Regions from separate parts of the Homo sapiens genome. Here region 2 is linked to region 1. Evidence: promoter capture Hi-C in 16 types of primary human blood cells and fetal thymus (Javierre and others, 2016). All regions are on one chromosome and are shown on one strand. The core of a region is centred on a gene start or on the middle of the fragment in contact, and the rest is flanking DNA. Distances in the headings are between cores, read along the strand shown. Region 1 holds the start of FTMT (ferritin mitochondrial). Region 2 has its middle 320 kb from the start of PRR16.

Region 1 (4,141 bases), core at 1,107-3,606:
TTGGACTGCAGGGAGCACAATTTGCCAAGAGCCTCAGCTGCCGTGCTCTGAAATTGATTCATTACTTGGTTTGCTGCAAGTCCATACTTCCCAGTCAATACCTAAATACAGGAAAGGTACTTAGGCTCATTTCTGGGAGACTTGGGATTCCTGACTAGTGACTTTGGCTTGAGGCCTCCCTGACAGCCTTGCAGACCTTTCCAAAGAAATATGCACAACTTCCCTTCTTCATCCCCCCGGGGGATTACATTTGCATGAAGTCTGAAGGCTCTCCCTGCTTCTCCCACTTGCTGCTTTTCCATTTTCTCTCAGAGGTCTGTTTCCCCTAATTTCTTGTACACTTAATCCCATTTTGGCATCAGTGTTTCAGAAAACCCAAACTAACAGAGATATTTAGGTTGTTTTCAGATTCTTATTCTGTATAACCAGACTAAGCCTCAGATTGCTCCATTTTGAGCACTGTTTTCTTCTGTTAAGAGCCTTTGAAGACCTTGCTTTTGTCCCCTGAATTAAGCCCAAACCCTTCTCACCTCTGTACTCTGCCGCAGCTCATCTTTCCAATCACCACTCAGTGTTCTAGTCTATTCCAATGCTGGACTCTCCCACTCCTCACTTCCATGCCTAAAGAAAACATCTACCTGACTAGATGCCTCCTCTATTCTGGATCCCTTCTTGACTTTTTAAACCCCCATGTTCTTTTCTGTCCATTTTAAAGACCACAGAAAGGTGTTTTATGCAGTGTTTTCACTCTTCTTGGCAGGTTAAAAGAGAGACTCAATGGTGAAGTATATAGAGTGTGGAATCAGGTCTGGTTTGTTATATTACCAACATTAAAACAACAAAACACTGAGATTGCATATGTTTGGAAAACACTGAGCTAAACAAAAATAATTAAAGCTTTTATATTTATTAACTGCAAAACTTCCCAGAGCCCTTAAAATGTTAATATATGCTGTGATTTTCCAAGACTAACACTGATAATTCATGTAGCTTATCCCAAATTTGACTACGAATTCTTTTAAAAAACGATCTCCAGACAGTACTGCTTCTTGGGACACACTGGGAAAAGGCAAAAGCTGTCATAGCATTTTTGCATGTATAATTTTCACAGTACTAAATATTCTTCACTTATAGTTATTTGTATATTTTTATCCATTTTCCCACTTTAGCGTTTTGCATAAGGTATTGAATATGGCAGGCACTTGTTGAATTAAAAATCACAGAATTTAAGTGTAGGTTCATATTCTGATAATACTTGGCAACTGGAGAACGTTAGTTTGCACCCTCTTTCAGTAGCTTTTTGGAGTCTTTTTCTATACCATAGTTACCTGTGCTATCTTCGAGCCTGGGAAAATAACTGCCTTGATGGTTAGTAAAAAGCCCTTGTTAAACATGGGCAAAACATTTTTTTCTACAAATCACTTTATTGGAGGAATAGTATAACAGAAGAATATAAAGATGGAGGTGATTTTAAGGGCAAGAAAGCAGGAGACAGCTGACTTTGGTCTTTGGATCCACTAGCCTGGGAGGAAGGCAGCTCGTGGCTTAGTTCTGCTTGTTTTCATTTCCAAGGGTATGTGTGTCAAAAAGGTACTCCGCCAGGCCAGCATCCGGGGCCCCCATCTTCACTAAGTTGTGCACGTGGTCACCTAGTTCTTTGATAGACTTCACCTGCTCATTCAGGTAGTAGGTTTCCAGGAAATCGCACAAATGGGGGTCACCTTTATCTGAGGCTAGAGCGTGCAATTCCAGCAACGACTGGTTCACGTTCTTTTCCAAGAGTAGAGCACACTCCATGGCATGCAGCCCGCTTTCCCAGTCGTCCTGTTCCGGCTTCTTGATGTCCTGCAGGCGGATCCGGCCTCCTCGCTGGTTCTGCAGCCTCATCAGCTTCTCCGCGTGCTCGGTCTCCTCCCGGGACTGGTGAAGGAAATACCTGGAGAAGTTGTTCAAGGCCACGTCATCCCGGGAGAAGTAATAGGCCATGGACAAGTACACGTAGGACGCATAGAGCTCGAGGTTGATCTGGCGGTTGATGGCAGCCTCGGAGTCGGGGTGGAAGTTCTGGCGCACCCGAGAGGGGCCGGCGGCGGGCCCGGTAGGGTCCCGGGAGGAGGCGGCTGCGGCCAGGGGGCGGCGGGGGGCGATCTGCCTGGGGTCCAAGGGGCGCCCCGGGGCCCAACGCAGCGGGAGCGCGAAGCAGCAGCGCACCGGGCGCAGAGACGCCAGCGAAGGGCTGATGTGCCTGGAGAGGAGCCTGAAGCAGGACAGCATAGCGCCGCCTCCTTGGAAGTGGGGAAACTGAGGCCCGGCCCTCTTGGCGTGGGGTCGGGCGCTGGAGGCGTCAGATCTGATCAGAACGTGGCCCTAGGCAACGGTGACTGCGTCACACGCCCCTTCTGTTCCAGAGGCGCGGGGTTCCACGCGGAGGGCGCTGGGGAAGCGCCGCCGGGGGCTCTGGGGACCCGCGTGGGGCGCAGTCTAGGCGGAGGCCAGCGCAGATGCCCAGTCACGATTCCGTGAGCATTCGCCCCCACCGACGACGTGAGATTTCTGCTCTTTGGCGATTGTCACTGATTTCACCTGCGTTAAAAAGGCTGTCAGGAGAGTAGGCCCTGGGACTTCCCAAAGAAGGGACCAAGCTGTACTCCCCCTTCTTCTCTGACCTTTTCATAAGGACCAAGAGTTGGACTGGCAACACAGTGAAAAGGGTGAACCAAAAGTCACCAATTTACCTGTGAGAATAAAGGTCCACATCCAAAGCAAGTGTACATAAATTAACTGGTTATTTAACATGTAAGTGTGGAAACAATTGCCAGCATAGTGGGAAAATTTTTAAGACTCTGTTTCTTTTAAAATACATGCATAGTTTATTTTTAAACATAAAATGTATCTTCATTGTAAAGAAATGAGATACTGTAGGCCGGGTGCCGTGGCTCACGCCTTTGGGAGGCCGAGGCGGGCGGATCACAAGGTTAGGAGATCGAGACTATCCTGGCTAACACGGTGAAACCCCGTCTCTACTAAAAACACAAAAAATTAGCCGGGCGTGGTGGCAGGCTGCTGTAGTCCCAGCTACTTGGAAGGCTGAGGCAGGAGAATGGCGTGAACCCGGGGGGCGGAGCTTGCAGTGAGCCGAGATCGAGCCACTGCACTCCAGCCTGGGCGACAGAGCAAGACTCCGTCTCAAAAAAAAAAAAAAAAAGAAAAAAGAAAGAAAGAATGAGAAATGAGATACCGTAGAAACCCTAGGAGGAATAAAATGCCTCTGAACTCAAAATATGTTACTTTCCCATCTTTTCTTAGTGCAGAGATTATATCCTCTTAAAATAGCTCTTTAAAAATTAAACTTTAAATAGCATTTAGTGTTAAAATAGTATTTATGTAATTGTTGCAGGGTACTGAAGAAAAAAGGGTAAGCACGCAGAAGAAAGTTCAAAACAACCCTAATTCGTCTTCTGCCGAGATTACTATTGTTAAAATGTTGATGGTAATGCTCAGAGGTTTAAAAAAATGAAAAACGTGTATTACAGACCCACAAAAGCGAATACAGACATATAAAACAGCTTTATATAGAGATATATAATTGACATACAATAAACTGCAGTTGCGGATAGTTCATGTGAATAGAGTCAACAGTATGTGCTCCTTTTTACTTGCTTTCTTTTAGTCAGTGTAATTATTTTAGGTTCCATCCACACTGTATCTTGTTTCAGTAGTTCCTTTTATTGCTGAGTAGTATTCCATTGTATGGATATACCACAATTCGTTTATCCTTTCATCTGATGATGGACATTTTTGTTGTTATAGTTTTTGGCTATTAAAATGAAGTCGTTATAGACATTCCTGTACAAGTCTTTCTGTGGTCAGATGCTCTCATTTCTCTTGATAAAATACCTTGTAGGAAAAGCCGGATTACATGATAGGTATATGTTTACTTTTTAAAGAAATTTCCAAACTGTTTTCCAAGGTGATTATGGCATTTTACATTCCCATCAGCAGAGTGTTAAGAGTTCAAGTTCCTTCACATTTTATGCTTACACATGGTATTGTCAGTCATTTAATTTTAATTAAAATTTAAAAATTTCTAATGACTGTGTGCTGGTGTTTCAATGTGTTTTTAATTTGCATTGAAGTATGT
Region 2 (4,141 bases), core at 510-3,009, 1.1 Mb after region 1:
GTTTATGATATTTGTATTATTCTAATGAAGCCATTAGCAAGTGTGGCCTACTGTAGTCATGTGAGATTGTTCAGTTGAGCCTACAACTACTGGATGTTATACACAGGGAGAGATTCCTTTTATTTGCACTTATCAAAATGTTACTGGTTTCATCTAATAGCAGCGGGTGGTCAGGCTAGGTGTGGAGTAGCCTGTGTAGCACCTGCAACTAGTTACATAGTTTAAAGATACACCTAACACCTGAGAACCATTAGGATGGTGCCATGGATATTCCTGTCCTGGTCATAATGAGCCCATGGTTTTGTGATTCTAAGAGAAGAGAGAATTTTGAATAAGATGTTCAATGTCATTCTTCTAGGAAGAATTAGCAAAAAATGTAAAACGTGCTATAATAGAGAGTTGAGCAAAAGTTTCCTTGAGACCTGGGAAAAAAGTTTCAAAGAGCTTTCATGGATAAAAATTATATTTAATCTAGCTCTTAAGACAGGTATTTCGTCTTTGAGAAATGTCTACTCCGATCTCTTGCCCATTTTTATTCAGATTTTTTTGCTATTGAGTTTTTTGAGTTTCTTACATATTCTGGTTATTGAGTTCCTTATAGATTATTGTGAGTTGAATAGTTTGCAAATATTTTCTCCCATTCTATAGGTTGTCTCTTTGCCAACAGGCATATACAAAATATGCTCAACATATATAATCATCAGAGAAATGCAAATTAAAACCACAATGAGATATCATTTCACTCCAGTTAAAAATGGTTTTTATGAAATAGAGAAAATAATAAATGCTAGCAAAGATGTAGATAAAGTAAAGCTCGTACACTGTTGGTAGGAATGTAAATTGGTATAGCCATTATGAAAAATAGTATGAAGAATCCTCAAAAAACTAACAGTAGAACTACCACATGATCCAGCAATTCCACTGCTGTGTATATAGCTCCAAAAGAAAGAAATTCAGTATATTAAGAGATATCTGCACTCCCATGTTTATTGCAGCACTACTCACAATAGCCAAGATATGAAATAAATATAAATGTCCATCAACCAATGAATGGATAAGAAAAAGTAGAACATATATACAATGAAATATTATTCAGCCATAAAGTAGAAAGATATCCTTTGTAATTACATGGTTGGAACTGGAGGACATTATGTCAAGTGAAATAAGCCAGCCACAGCAAGACAAATACACATGTTCTCGTTCATAGGTGGGAGCTTAAAAAATTATCTTATGAAGGTGGAAAGTAGAATGATGATTACCAGAGGCTGGTATGGGTAGTGGGAATGGGGGGAAAAAGGGGTTGGTAAATGGGTACAAAAATTCAGTTAGATTGTAAGAATAAGATCTAGTGTTTGGTAGCACAGTAGAGTGACTATAGTTAACAATAAATTATTGTATATTTCCAAATAACTAGAGTGGGTTTGGAATGTTCCCAACACAAAAACATGATAAATGTTTTAGGTGATGGGTGTCCAGATACCCTAATTTGAGCATAATACATTGTACACTTCTATCAAAATATTTCACATACCCCTTAAATACATACAACTATTATGTACTCATAAAAATTAAAACAATTTAAATTTTTTTAAAAGATAGATAGGCAGCATATTACCAGTTTGAAAAAAGAAAGTTGAGGGAAGCATCCTAGGTAGACAGAGAAAATGATCTCAATGCAGTTTTTAAAACATGATGCCATTCTACCTATCTAGTACGTTCTACTTTCTGCCCATGTATCAGTTCTAAGTTTTGAGAAGTTTGTTTTGGCTATTATGTGGATATATATAGAATTAAATACCTATGATTGAATTAGAAAAAGTCATTTATGGGTGCACTTCATTGTAATCTTTAAGTCTGATTAAATAGCTGCTTTAGAAAAAACGTTTCATTTCATGCTTCGCAAACTATGAATACTGAGTAAATCACATTGAAAATGATTATTGTAATGTGAAGAAAATGATATTACTAATTCTATCATTGGTTCTAAGTTAACACAAATAATTCTTTCTTATGAATTATATATGACATTTTCTAAAATGCAATTGTGATTCTGATGGCTGCACCTGTTTTCCTGAGTCTGAGAGCAGTGCGAGCACTGCCTAAGGAATCTGTACATCCACCAGCAAGACATACTGCATGAACTTTGAGTAAGTTCTTCTTATATTGAGGATATTTAGTAAGTGTGCATCTGCCTGACAAGCAACAACTTAGAGAGATGACAATTTAAATCTTTAAGATTAGATGGTCATTTTCTAAAGTAAGCACCTGATACCCTGAAAAATAATGCACTTCAGAATTGCCCTTCTCATCTGAACTGGTGGGTTCAGACAGTTATATACATTAACATTAGTTCCAAATTACCAGGACCAGCCACAAAATTTGCAGGGCCCAAAGAAAAATAAAATTCAGGGCTCTGTTTGTTTGAAAAAGCAGGATAAAAGCTCTTTCTTTCTCATCCAGTCTCTCTAGATGTACCACTTAATGCCTGTTCCACTGGACACAGGGATGCTTACAGAGTGAACACAGACCTTCACAATCCCTGGAGCCCTACCTTGTAACTTATGACTGCAGTGCTTTGGTCCCCACTGAGATAGAGGGAAGCAGCATATGGGAGGGAAAATAGGTAGCCAGGAACTTATCCAGGGAAATGTGGAACCAACCCCGAGGGGAAGCGCTGAGATCCTAGTCACGTGTCACTGTCCCATCAGGCTTCACTTTTAAAACACAATTTGAAAGATAAAACAATTAAAATCATCAAGATGGTGACTGTAGACCTTAATAAAACCCCAAGTGCCATGGGGTGCAGTTATGAGGGTGGGCTGCATGTATGGAGGGATTGTGGTTTTGGAGGGGGGTACTTCTGAACACTGAGCACAGGGGCCTGTGCAAATGCACTGGTCAACTGGTCACACACTTAATGAAGCTAATCCTGCAAGTCTGTTGCAAATTGATGGTTTAATCTGTCCCACTCCAAACTTTTACATTAAAGTCCAAAATAACACCAACCACACACTCAGTTTAGATTGGTATTATGGTTTATTGTGGGTGTTTTTTCATTCAAGAGTCACTACAGAAGAACAATGTGCATGAAAGAAAAGTAGTAATATGAACAATAGTAGAAAGAATGCCTTGAACTATTTATATGCAAATCACTGTTTTTATTAGTAAATTACAAATACCCACTTGTTAAAGTTTTTACAATTTTACCTAGAAAAATAGAATTTTTATCAATTCTTGCAACCTTTTCCCTTTAAAATAAGGACATAATTTGTAAGGTCTATCTACAATATTCAAATACTTGAAAAATGAATTTGGTGAAATTCCCTAAGAAAATAAGCTATAGATATTAATGAAGATATAGAAGCTCTGTTGTCCATGAAACATCAGTATTCGCACAAGAAAAAAACTGCTTTTATTACTATCTGAAACTGTATCTCTTTTTTCACATATGTATATTGACGGGGTTGAGAACATGGTACTCCAAAATATGGCTCCTTGTCATACTGGGTATTTTAAGCTTAAGAAATGTGAGAAAACCACAGAAGCAGGAAGGTGTCCCTGACCTTCTCCTGATCTCCCTGAAGCAGATCATAAAATCCTTATGTGAGAGATGCCTCCCATACACCAAGGAAAGGAGCACTTACCTCTGAAGACAAAGCATCACAGAGAAGAATCTGAACAGACTTTGCTCTGTTTCCTCTAGTTTATTACCATTAGATCATATTTTTTTATTCACTCATGCGTCTCCAAAAGCATTCCCATTTTCATCAAAAGTAGCATAAAAATACCCAGGTCTACCCGTTTCTTCTGGTCTTCTTTTCTTTATAAATGCTTCTATGTCACATACAACTTATATTTTAAAAATTTGTATGTTTTTCTCTTGTTAATCTCGTTAGTCTTGTTAGTCTTGTTTCAGACGCTTCAGCCATGAATCTGAGAAAGCGGATAGAAAAGAATATTTTCCTGTCTATGATATGCCCATGTAGAATATCATCAGTTTGAAAAAAAAATTGTCAATTATTTTGCCAATTAATTCAGTTGAAATAAATGTTAACATAATATTTAATAATTATGAAAATTAGATAGATACATAGATATTTCTGAGATGGAGTCTCGCTCTGTTGCCAGGCTGAAGGGCAGT

Evidence for each region. The method cuts DNA at HindIII sites, captures the fragments that hold promoters and counts their contacts. A CHiCAGO score of 5 or more calls a contact.
Region 2: a fragment that was not itself captured here is called in contact with the fragment with the promoter of FTMT in region 1 in 1 of 17 cell types (erythroblasts); the score reaches 6.3 in erythroblasts.

What each region holds. Positions count from the first base shown.
Region 1 is chr5:121,850,097-121,854,237 of GRCh38, reverse strand. It overlaps FTMT (ferritin mitochondrial), which reads right to left and starts at 2,356. Exons shown (of 1, transcript NM_177478.2): 1 at 1,405-2,356. The coding sequence starts at 2,274. The coding sequence ends at 1,546. All of the region lies in intron 3 of LOC105379149 (a long non-coding RNA gene), which reads right to left. The HindIII fragment of the contact is 4,461 bases long and covers 900-4,141 here.
Region 2 is chr5:120,781,010-120,785,150 of GRCh38, reverse strand. It overlaps a transcript of PRR16 not described here. Among named protein-coding and RNA genes, the nearest start is that of PRR16, 320 kb to the right of the region's middle. The HindIII fragment of the contact is 3,521 bases long and covers 1-3,519 here.